Linked DNA regions of Homo sapiens: regions 1, 2 and 3 are each linked to region 4. Evidence: promoter capture Hi-C in 16 types of primary human blood cells and fetal thymus (Javierre and others, 2016). All regions are on one chromosome and are shown on one strand. The core of a region is centred on a gene start or on the middle of the fragment in contact, and the rest is flanking DNA. Distances in the headings are between cores, read along the strand shown. Region 1 overlaps LAMC2 (laminin subunit gamma 2). Region 2 overlaps NMNAT2 (nicotinamide nucleotide adenylyltransferase 2). Region 3 overlaps NMNAT2 (nicotinamide nucleotide adenylyltransferase 2). Region 4 holds the start of LAMC1 (laminin subunit gamma 1).

Region 1 (2,700 bases), core at 81-2,580, 220 kb after region 4:
CATACCCCCAGATTAGCTTGTTTGAGGCAGAGCTTGGCAAAGTACCCCTGTCCCTAAGTCTGATTCTCTCATTATTCATCTAATTTACTCCATCAGGGCCCGGCTGCCGCTGTATTTTTTCTATGGTTGTCTTTGGGATGTTTTTGTGCCTCACCCCTATCTCTCCTTCCGTCCCTGGCTCCTTTTCTTCTCTCAGGAGATTGGGAGTCTGAACTTGGAAGCCAATGTGACAGCAGATGGAGCCTTGGCCATGGAAAAGGGACTGGCCTCTCTGAAGAGTGAGATGAGGGAAGTGGAAGGAGAGCTGGAAAGGAAGGAGCTGGAGTTTGACACGAATATGGATGCAGTACAGATGGTGAGTTCCTGTTGCTTTCCACGGGAGATCCCTTTCAACTTGCCAAAATGGAAAATACCTTTTCAAGGCTGGTTTGTGCTTATTTGTCCTCAGGTGATTACAGAAGCCCAGAAGGTTGATACCAGAGCCAAGAACGCTGGGGTTACAATCCAAGACACACTCAACACATTAGACGGCCTCCTGCATCTGATGGGTATGTGAACCCACAACCCACAACCTTCCAGCTCCATGCTCCAGGGCTTTGCTCCAGAACACTCACTATACCTAGCCCCAGCAAAGGGGAGTCTCAGCTTTCCTTAAGGATATCAGTAAATGTGCTTTGTTTCCAGGCCCAGATAACTTTCGGCAGGTTCCCTTACATTTACTGGACCCTGTTTTACCGTTGCTAAGATGGGTCACTGAACACCTATTGCACTTGGGGGTAAAGGTCTGTGGGCCAAAGAACAGGTGTATATAAGCAACTTCACAGAACACGAGACAGCTTGGGAATCCTGCTAAAGAGTCTGGCCTGGACCCTGAGAAGCCAGTGGACAGTTTTAAGCAGAGGAATAACATCACCACTGTATATTTCAGAAAGATCACTAGGGCAGCCGAGTGGAGGAAAGCTTGAAGAGGGGGTTAGAGAGAAGGCAGGTTGAGACTACTTAAGATATTGTTGAAATAATTGAAGAGAGAAATGACAGGAGCCTGCTCTAAGGCAGTAGAATGGTGGCTGGGAAGATGTGAAGGAAGATTTTCCCAGTCTGTGAAGTCAAGAATCACTTGCCGGCCGGGTGTGGTGGCTCACGCCTGTAATTCTAGCACTTTGGGAGACTGAAGCGGGTGGATCACCCGAGGTCAGGAGTTGAAGACCAGCCTGGCCAACATGGTGAAACCCTGTCTCTACTAAAAGTACAAAAATTAGCTGGATGTGGTGGTGGGCGCCTGTAATTCCAGCTACTCAGGAGTCTGAGGCAGGAGAATCGCTTGAACCCAGGAGGCGGAGGTTACAGTGAGCCAAGATTGCACCACTGCTCTCCAGCCTGGGGAACAGAGCAAGACTGTCTCAAAAAAAAAAAAAAAAGGAAAAATAAAAAAGAATCACTTGCCGATTTTACATTTGTTCCTCCCCAAACCAAAGTTATACCTTGATGTAACCAGTGGGAGGAACTTGAGCTGCTTGGGTAAATAACCCAGAAGAAATGTGATGAGAGTAGGCCTGTGAGATAATTTTAGGAAGATCTGATGGCACAGCGTGGAAGAAAATCAGGTTTCCCTACAGAATCGCTCCCAAAAGAAAACTTATTTTGGTTAAATTTCTGGATTTAGGTAGAGCTGATATCAAACCCTCATTTGGTCTGTTTTATCAAGCTTGGACTGCAGCAGATGTGGAACTAGAGATTCGTCACAGATTCCAGTAACATTTAGGAAAATGTTTGGCTCTGCTATTCCAGTTCAGTAGAACAACTTCGAAACTGGATTTTTCTGTAGGGTGTCATCATCACCCTGAGATGCCAATGTCATCTGTGTTGTTATAGTCTTGGGTCTGCTTTGTGATCCAATGAGCCCAAAAGAGTAAAATGCCCTCAAAGGATTGAGAAAAAAAAAAGGAAAAAACAAAACAAAGGAAAACAAAACCTTCCCAATTGAGACTTTAGCAGCGTTGTTTAGTGTTCTAAAAAAAAAAGAAAGGCAATGAAACTAATGAGACCTGTAAAGAGAATATGAGAGAGTAGGGAGAGCAGGGTAGATGGAAGCTATTAAACATTTACTATGTGTCAGATGTTTTCATGGTGTAATATCATTTGTCTTGTAAAAGTCCTCTGTGGTGGGTTTTATCATTTTTATTATTTTATTTCATGAAGGACTGAACTGAGGCTCAGAGGTTAATAATGCCCCACAGGTCATGTAGTAAATTGTAGAGGCAGGATCCAAACTGATATCTTTTTGCCTCCAATGCTCGTGTTCTTTTCTAGTAACTCATGCCACCTTCCCATAGACAAGGTTATTTTGTTCCCAAGCTTACTTAACTTCCTCTGCATGTCGTAAAATCCTAAATTCCTAAATTCTCCCTGACCCCAAGTGAAAGATCCATTTGGATCAACATTTTTGTTACAGTGTTGTTTCTACTCTGTGTGCTCTCTTAAGTCCTGGAGCAATATGAGATTAATTGTTCTAGGTATAATAAACTCATGCAGTCAAATACTATCACTTCAGCTCACATATGTGAGGCAACTTGACCTTGAGTTCGAATTGACCAAGGCCACTCAAACCTATTTGAACTAAATGGGTCTGGCCAGGTACCCTTCATACTGACATTAGTTTTAGATAGTCTAAGGGTAACACATGCTTGAACAAACGTGATT
Region 2 (2,700 bases), core at 13-2,512, 250 kb after region 4:
TTCTGTCCCCAGTCATGGGCAGTGTTAAATCAAGTTTAGCCTAAAGCTGCCTCCCTGCATATTTTAAGTTCGGCCTAAAGATTTCTCTGTGTACATGGTGAACTATAACAAGTGGAGGTGTAAACAGGCTTTAGCTTACATTTGTGCCAATTACCAAGTTTTGGCCAATCAATGTAGCCAGCTGTTCGAACTGTGTTCAAATAAGACTGTTTCTGTACTTCACTTCCATTTTCTGTACATCACCTTCCTTTTTCTGTCCATAAAACTTCTACCACATGGCTGCGCTGGAGTCTGAGAGCCTACTCTGGCATGGGATGCCGCCTGATTCGTGAATTGTTCATTGCTCAATTAAACTCTTTTAAATGTAATTCAGCTGAAGTTATTCTTTTAACAGCAGATTTCAGGGTTTTGGCCTCATGGTCTCCAAGCAAAGTCTGTGGTCAACAAGTATCACTCGGGGCACCCGATAATAAAGAGAAATGTGCTCTGAGAAAGGGATGAATGAATGGGCAAACGAATGAAACCTGAAACAGAAGCAGGTCTCACATATCTCGCTTCCAGGAGTCTCATGGTTAGGAACTGAAATTCCTAAAATGGGCGTTTCCAGGCAAACCCCAGATGGTAGAACTTGCTAGTACAATAAGCAGGGCTCATTCTGTATCCACTCCTGAAAGATGTTCCTTTTCCAGACCTTGAGATCCAACCTTCCCCAAATAAGAGCAGTGGACTAATTCACTGAGGTGCTAAGTAATTTTGTGCTGCCTACACCCTCCTCTGCCAGCTCTATTTTTCTTTCTTTCTCTTTCTTTCTTTCTTTTTCTCTCTTTTTTCCCTCCCTTCCTTCCTTCCTCTTTCTTTCTTTCTTCCTCTCTCTCTTTCTCTCTTTCTTTCCTTTCTTTTCCCTCCCTCCCTCCCTCCCTTCCTTCCTTCCTTCCTTCCTTCCTTCCTTCCTTCCTTCCTTCCTTCCTTCCTTCCCTTCCTCCCTCCCTCCCTTCTTTCTTGCTTTTTTGCTTTTTGGAGTCTTGTCACTCAGGCTAGAGTGCAGTGGCACAATCTTGGCTCACTGCAACCTCTATCTCCTGGGTTCATGCAATTCCCCTGCCTCAGCCACCGGAGTAGCTGGGATTACAGGCATGCACCACCACGCCTGGGTGATTTTTGTACTTTTAGTAGAGATGGGGTTTTACCATGTTGGCCAGGCTTGTCTCAAACTCCTGACCTCAAGTGATCCACCCACTTCAGACTCCCAAAGCACTGGGATTACAGGTGTGAGCCACTGCGCCTGGCTGGCCAGCTCTATTTCTAGCAGACAGCCAGATCTTTTACAGGAGGAATTTGCAGGACAAAACCAGAATGCTCTGAAGTCAATAACTTTATTTATTTATTTGTTATTTATTTATTTATTTAGACAGAATCTTGCTCTGTCACCCAGGCTGGAGTGCAATGGCACGATCTCTGCTCACTGCAATCTCTGCCTCCCGGGTTCAAGCGATTCTCCTGTCTTAGCCTCCCAAGTAGCTGGGATTACAGGTGCCCGCCACCATGCCCGGCTAATTTTTTGTATTTTTAGTAGAGATGGGGTTTCACCATGTTGCCCAGGGTGGTCTCGAACTCTTGACCTCAGGTGATCCACCTGCCTCAGCCTCCCAAAGTGCTGGGATTACAGGCGTGAGTCACCACGCCTGGCCTGAAGTCAATGCCTTTAAACTCATTGAAGAAATTTTGAACCTAGTGCAGTGGCTCAGGTTTGTAATCCTAGCACTTTGGGAGGCGGAGGTGGGAGGATCATTTGGGCTCAGGAGTTCGAGACCAGCCTGGGCAACATAGTGAGACCTTGTCTCTAAAAAAAAAAAAAAGAAAAAAAAGACATTTCATTAGATGTCCTGAAGCGGGGAGAGAAAATAGGGAAGATGACTTGGGGATAGAAAGAACAAAGAACAGGTTCTGCTGCCCTCCCACCAACTTTCCCTACAATAGGAAGATGCTAGAGGTCTGTGGAGCCCACTCCTCCTCTCTCCTGGGCAGCACACTAGGGGCAAAACCTCAGAGGAGAACGGGCCTGGTGATCACAATGGGGCCCAGCACGAGGCCTCCAGACTCAGCCAGGAGTTCCTGCCCCAGGTGGGTGTGGAGCAGGGCACCTTTGACTTCAAGGGACCACAAAGGCTTGGACAGGGAAGATGTCTGTGGTGACCATGGTGAACTGAGATTGAAGTCCTGTCCTCATGTTCGGGGTGTGCAAGAGCCTTTCAGGTCTGCTAATTAATAATGGCTGAGACTAAAATTACCCTGTGGGATAGGGATTTGGAGTGGAATGTTAATTTGATTTAAATACATTAACATGATATTTCCGGCACACCTCTGTCATAGACTGAGATTCACACTCATTATGTGAGGAAACAGCTTCTTGAAATTTTTCCCTGTCTCAGACTCAATGATTCTAAGGACCTCGCAGATCAGCTGTGGGTTGAGGCAGGGGACTGAGCAGTTGGCTGGCAGGGTGGGGAAGCAGGTCTGCTCCAGGCTCTAGAAAGCCCTCTGAAGCAAGCTTGGGAGTCTGCTTCACCCAAATCCTTCTGCTGCCTCTGCAGGGGACTGGATTTCTCACCACCCTGGGCAAACTAGATGTGGGGTCCCTGCTGGCCTGGGACGTGGTACTCTCTGAGCATAGCTAGGATGGGTGTCCTGGGACTCCAGGAT
Region 3 (2,733 bases), core at 224-2,723, 230 kb after region 4:
GGTTTCACCATATTGGCCAGACTGGTCTCTAACTCCTAACCTCAAGTGATCCACCTGCCTCCGCCTCCCAAAGTGCTGGGATTATAGGTGTGAGCCACCGTGCCTGGCTGTCTAACTGCTATTGATAGTACTTTCAGTACTTTGCTGAATGGAAGTGGGAATAGTGGGCATTCTTGCTTTATATCAGGTCTTAGAGGAAAAGCTTTCATTTTCTCCCCATTGATTATAATGTTAGCTGTGGGTTTTTTAAAAAAAATAAAATAAATTGCCTTGCCGGGAGTGGTGGCTCACGCGTGTAATCCCAGCACTTTGGGAGGCTGAGGCAGGCAGATCACGAGGTCAGGCGTTCGAGCCCAGTCTGGCCAACATAGCGAAACCCTGTCTCTACCAAAAATACACAAAAAATTAGCTGGGCATGGTAGTGTGTGCCTGTAATCCCAGCTACTTAGGAGGCTGAGGCAGGAGAATCACGTGAACCCAGGAGGCGGAGGTTGCAGTGAGCAGAGATTGTGCCACTGCACTCCAGCCTGGGTGACAGAACCAGACTCCATCTCAAAAAAAATAATAAAAAAATTAAAAAATTTAAAAAATGGCCTTCGTTATGTTGAGAAACTTTCCTTCTATATTTAAACTGTTAAGAATCTTTATCAAGAAAGGATGTTGAACTTTGTCCAATGCTTTATCTGCATCAATTGATATGGTCATGTGGTTTTATCTTTCAGTCTATTTATGTGATGTATCACACTGACTGATTTGCATATGTTAAACCAGCCTTGTGTGCCAGGGATAAATCCTACTTGATCATCATGTATAAGCTTCATGTTGTGTTGTTGAATTCAATTTGCTAATGTTTTATTGAGGACTTTTACATCAATGCTCATCAGAAATATTGGCCTACAGTTTTCTTTTCTTGTGGTGTCTTTTTTTTTCTGTTGCCCAGGCTGGAGTGCAGCAGCGCATGATCTCAGTTCACTGCAACCTCTGCCTTCTGGGTTCAAGTGATTCTTCTGCCTCAGCCTCCCAAGTAGCTGGGATTACAGTCACGTGCCACCATGCCTGGATAATTTTTGTATTTTTAGTAGAGATGGGGTTTAACCATATTAGCCAGACTCATCTTGAACTCCTGACCTCAAGTGATCGATCTGCCTTGGCCTCCCAAAGTGCTAGGATTACAGGCATGAGCCACTGTGCCTGGCCTCTTTGGTGTCTTTATCTGGCTTAGGTATCAAAGGCGATGCTGGCCTCGTAGAATGTGCTAGGAGGTATTCCTTCCAGCTGTATTTCTTTGAAGAGTTTAAAATGTATAGGCCAGGCGTAGTGGTTCATGCCTGTAATACCAGCACTTTGGGAGGCCGAGGTGGGTGGATCACAAGCTCAGGAGTTCAAGACCAGCCTGGCCAACATAGTAAAACCCTGTCTCTACCAAAAATACAAAAATTAGCTGGGTGTGGTGGCAGGCACCTGTAATCCCAGCTACTTGGGAGGCTGAGGCAGGAGAATCACTTGAACCCGGGACGCGGAGGTTGCAGTGAGCCAAGATCACGCTATTGCACTCCAGCCTGGGCGACAGAGTGAGACTCTGTCTAAAAAAAGAAGTATTGGTATTAATTATTCTTTGAAAATTTGGTAGAATTCAGCTCTGAAGTCATCTGGTCCTGGGCTTTTCTTTGTTGGGAAGTTTTTAATTACTACTTCAATCTATTTGTTATTGGTCTGTTCAGGCTATTCCTGATTCAATCTTGCCAGATTATCTTTTTAAAGGAATTTATCCCTGCCCTCTAGGTTACCAAATTTGTTTGCATATAATTGTTCATAATAATTCCTTATGATCCATCTTATTTCTGAGACATCTGTTATAATGTCTACACTTTCATTTCTGATTTTATATATTTGAGTCTTTTTTTCAGTCTAGATAAAGGTTTGTCAATTTTGTTTTTTTTTTTCAAAAAACCAACTCTTCATTTTATTAATTTTTTCTATGGTTTTTCTATTCTCTATTTAGTTTTGCTCTAATCTTTATTATTTCCTTCCTTTGGGTTTAGTTTGTTCTTCTTTTTCTAGTTCCTTAAGGCATAATGCTAGGCAATTTATTTGGGGTCTTTCTTCTGTTTTAATGGGAGCAATTATTGTTAGAAGCTTTCCTCTTAGAACTATCCTTAGTTTATCCTTTTGGGTTCCTCTGCATGCTGGCCTCAAGAGTATGAATTCTCTTCCAGGGATTTTTGGGATTCACTGCATCTTTTCCTTCCTACAGGAGCCCATGGAGGAGAGGCACCAACAGGTATAAAGGACTCCAGTGACACATTTTGGCTTCTGCACAGTTTTTTTCCAGCCTTGGTCTGCCTACTTCCTGTTCTCTCCTAACACAATAGTCTAGGTGTCAGACCCAAACGAACTATTTGTAAAAATTCATATACGCCTCCACATACGTAGATTCTAAAAGGCATCTGAGCCCTGCCTGTGAGATCTCACTGGAGACCAGCTCACTGCCTTTCAATGCATGCACTGCCCTTGAAACCACCTTTGCAAAATTATGACTGAGGCAGTGAAAGAGATCTAACTTAACCGACTCCATCTTGCTTCTAACCTCCAAGCTGTCCTTGTTCCTGGTGTAGGCTGAACTAACTTCAGGAGAAACTTAGTTTATAGTTTATAGTTTGGGAGAAACTTAGTTTATAGTTTAAAAAAGAGGACAACAGCCCTTTCCCAAAGCAGACCTCCTTCTTGCCTAGG
Region 4 (2,700 bases), core at 166-2,665:
AGTGATGAACATAACTTGCTAAGTAAGCTCAGCCGTGTAACAAGACCCTAGATTCCCCTCCCTTCTTCATCCTACCAGAACATTATCCTTAAGGTTTTCCTAATCAGCAGTCTGCGTCTAACTAACCCTAACTATCCAGAGTCACCTAACATATACTTATTTCCTTGTTTCAGATTCCCATTACGCCTATCTTAATGGGACAACTGGGTCCGAAATTATGCATGTGTTTTTTTGTTTTGTTTTTGCGGTGTACTTATTATCCGCACTTTATCATTAAATTCCTGAAAAGCTAGAACAAAACAAATCCGTGTCATTCACTATGTGCATCCTCTCTGCTTGGGGACGCCAAGGGTTTCAAGCTGCTGCCTCCCTGCCCTGGTCTCTGCTTGCCGTATCCAGCACTGGGTAAGCGCCCAGGTTCTGCTCCGGGACTAAAACTCATGATCTTCTGGCTCAGGTTCTGTGAACTGAGTCATTCTGGCACTGAGAATATTCCGTGACTCAGCAGGCCCGAAAAGGAGGATGTCAGAATCCACATAATTTCGAGTCTTTTAAAGGCAAGCCGAGGAACACAAACAACACAGTGGAAGAATTTCGCAGTGGGTCGTGCGTACCCAAGGGAAAAATTCATTCCATTCCCAGCCTTTTCACTTCCTTCCTTGCCCCGGTAAAACGACTGGTTACACTTTAAATCAGCGGCAGGAAATCGCTTCACGAAACTCATCTGGCTGCTGCGACCAGGCCCTTCTGATTCTCCAGGGACCGTGTCGGCCCCATGAACGCCCCGGGACCTCTGTTCGGGAGGGGCTGGAGCGGGGCCCCGGGCAGCAGCGGGCGCTCCCGGTTCGGACCCACACCTGGCCGGGCGGGGACCCTCTTGCCGCAGCCCAAATTGGCGCGAGGCCCCAGGGACGACCCCGAGCGACCTCCTGACCCGGCATCGCCCCTCTAAGGCGCCCTCCCCCGACTCCTCCCGCAATCCGGAGTCTCCCAGGCCGCGGAGCCCAAGGACCCCAGCGACTCCCGCGCGGGGAGCGGGTCTGCGAGGCCGCCCTTCCCTCCCGGCATGCACCACCCAGCCGCCCTCCCCTCCCCTCCTCTCCTCTCCCCTCCCCTCCTCTCCCCTCCTCTCCCCTCCCCTCCCCCAACCCCCTCCCCCGGCTCCCCGCCCACCTCGCGCGCCCCTCCCCCCGGGTCGCGCGCCGCGGGCCCGAGCGCGAGACGCCGCTGCTCCCGCCCCCGCCGCCTCCTGGAGTCGCCGGGGCGGACGCGCAGTCCATGGGGCGCGGTGGGCCGGGGAGTTGCCCCAGGGGCCGCGGGAGTTGCTGAGAGGAGACAGGGTTGGGCTTTCTCCTCGCCCAGACCCCACCCCACCCTGCCGACCCCACCCCCTGCTCCTTCCTCCCCGGGGGCGCGCACTCGGGCACGCGCTCGGAAGTCGGGGGTCGGCGCGGAGTGCAGGCTGCTCCCGGGGTAGGTGAGGGAAGCGCGGAGGCGGCGCGCGGGGGCAGTGGTCGGCGAGCAGCGCGGTCCTCGCTAGGGGCGCCCACCCGTCAGTCTCTCCGGCGCGAGCCGCCGCCACCGCCCGCGCCGGAGTCAGGCCCCTGGGCCCCCAGGCTCAAGCAGCGAAGCGGCCTCCGGGGGACGCCGCTAGGCGAGAGGAACGCGCCGGTGCCCTTGCCTTCGCCGTGACCCAGCGTGCGGGCGGCGGGATGAGAGGGAGCCATCGGGCCGCGCCGGCCCTGCGGCCCCGGGGGCGGCTCTGGCCCGTGCTGGCCGTGCTGGCGGCGGCCGCCGCGGCGGGCTGTGCCCAGGCAGCCATGGACGAGTGCACGGACGAGGGCGGGCGGCCGCAGCGCTGCATGCCCGAGTTCGTCAACGCCGCCTTCAACGTGACTGTGGTGGCCACCAACACGTGTGGGACTCCGCCCGAGGAATACTGTGTGCAGACCGGGGTGACCGGGGTCACCAAGTCCTGTCACCTGTGCGACGCCGGGCAGCCCCACCTGCAGCACGGGGCAGCCTTCCTGACCGACTACAACAACCAGGCCGACACCACCTGGTGGCAAAGCCAGACCATGCTGGCCGGGGTGCAGTACCCCAGCTCCATCAACCTCACGCTGCACCTGGGTAAGCGGTGACAGCCCCGTCCCCTGCTACTGCTCGCCAGCAGCCCAGCTCCCGGACCGGCTCCGTCCCAGTGGCCGGCCTCACGGGCGCAGACGGCCGCGTGTTTGCTCTCTGTTCCCCGGCATGGGCCACACAGAAACTCCTTTCTCCAACTTCTTAAATAGATACTGCTTTTAACATCCCGTGAGGGCCAGGATGTTCCGCACGAGTCTCTCTGCTTTCCTGTTCTTTCTGACTTAACGGGATTCTGGCTCTCTGATTATTCTGCATTTCGGCTGTTAGGATTGTGATTTCCCCCTTTTTTTTCTGAAGCGTTAATCAGAAACTCCCATCCCCACTTTTCTCTTTGCTAGCAAGGTCATCACAGCGCATTCTTGGATCGGAAACAAGAAGGTCCGCCTTAAACACTTTCGCCTTTAAAATGTTTAGATGTCCTTCCAGGGCTGAGGGTGATTGCTCTGTTGAGTTAAGGGGGAATTTGAGGGGAGCAAATGCCTTCGCTGCCTATATTGCCTATGTGTAATTAAAACATAAATTCACTTTTGAAGTTATTGTTCTTTATAGCTGCTC

Evidence for each region. Contacts are between HindIII fragments. The CHiCAGO score rates a contact against its expected background, and 5 or more counts as called.
Region 1: a fragment that was not itself captured here is called in contact with the fragment with the promoter of LAMC1 in region 4 in 1 of 17 cell types (endothelial precursors); the score reaches 5.5 in endothelial precursors.
Region 2: a contact is called between a fragment that was not itself captured here and the fragment with the promoter of LAMC1 in region 4, in 1 of 17 cell types (endothelial precursors). The highest score is 14.9, in endothelial precursors.
Region 3: a fragment that was not itself captured here is called in contact with the fragment with the promoter of LAMC1 in region 4 in 1 of 17 cell types (endothelial precursors); the score reaches 8.6 in endothelial precursors.

The regions. Positions count from the first base shown.
Region 1 is chr1:183,239,844-183,242,543 of GRCh38, forward strand. It overlaps LAMC2 (laminin subunit gamma 2), which reads left to right. Exons shown (of 23, transcript NM_005562.3): 21 at 197-355; 22 at 449-548. Among named protein-coding and RNA genes, the nearest start is that of LAMC2, 55 kb to the left of the region's middle. The HindIII fragment of the contact is 745 bases long and covers 959-1,703 here.
Region 2 is chr1:183,272,925-183,275,624 of GRCh38, forward strand. All of the region lies in intron 8 of NMNAT2 (nicotinamide nucleotide adenylyltransferase 2), which reads right to left. Among named protein-coding and RNA genes, the nearest start is that of LAMC2, 88 kb to the left of the region's middle. The HindIII fragment of the contact is 2,568 bases long and covers 1-2,546 here.
Region 3 is chr1:183,255,855-183,258,587 of GRCh38, forward strand. All of the region lies in intron 10 of NMNAT2 (nicotinamide nucleotide adenylyltransferase 2), which reads right to left. It also overlaps a transcript of LAMC2 not described here. Among named protein-coding and RNA genes, the nearest start is that of LAMC2, 71 kb to the left of the region's middle. The HindIII fragment of the contact is 1,321 bases long and covers 814-2,134 here.
Region 4 is chr1:183,022,005-183,024,704 of GRCh38, forward strand. LAMC1 (laminin subunit gamma 1) reads left to right here and starts at 1,416. Exons shown (of 28, transcript NM_002293.4): 1 at 1,416-2,130. The coding sequence starts at 1,713. RefSeq lists enhancers at 113-668, 669-1,223, 1,779-2,332 and silencers at 735-1,124, 1,155-1,544, 1,595-1,664, 1,685-1,824. The HindIII fragment of the contact is 7,676 bases long and covers 1-2,700 here.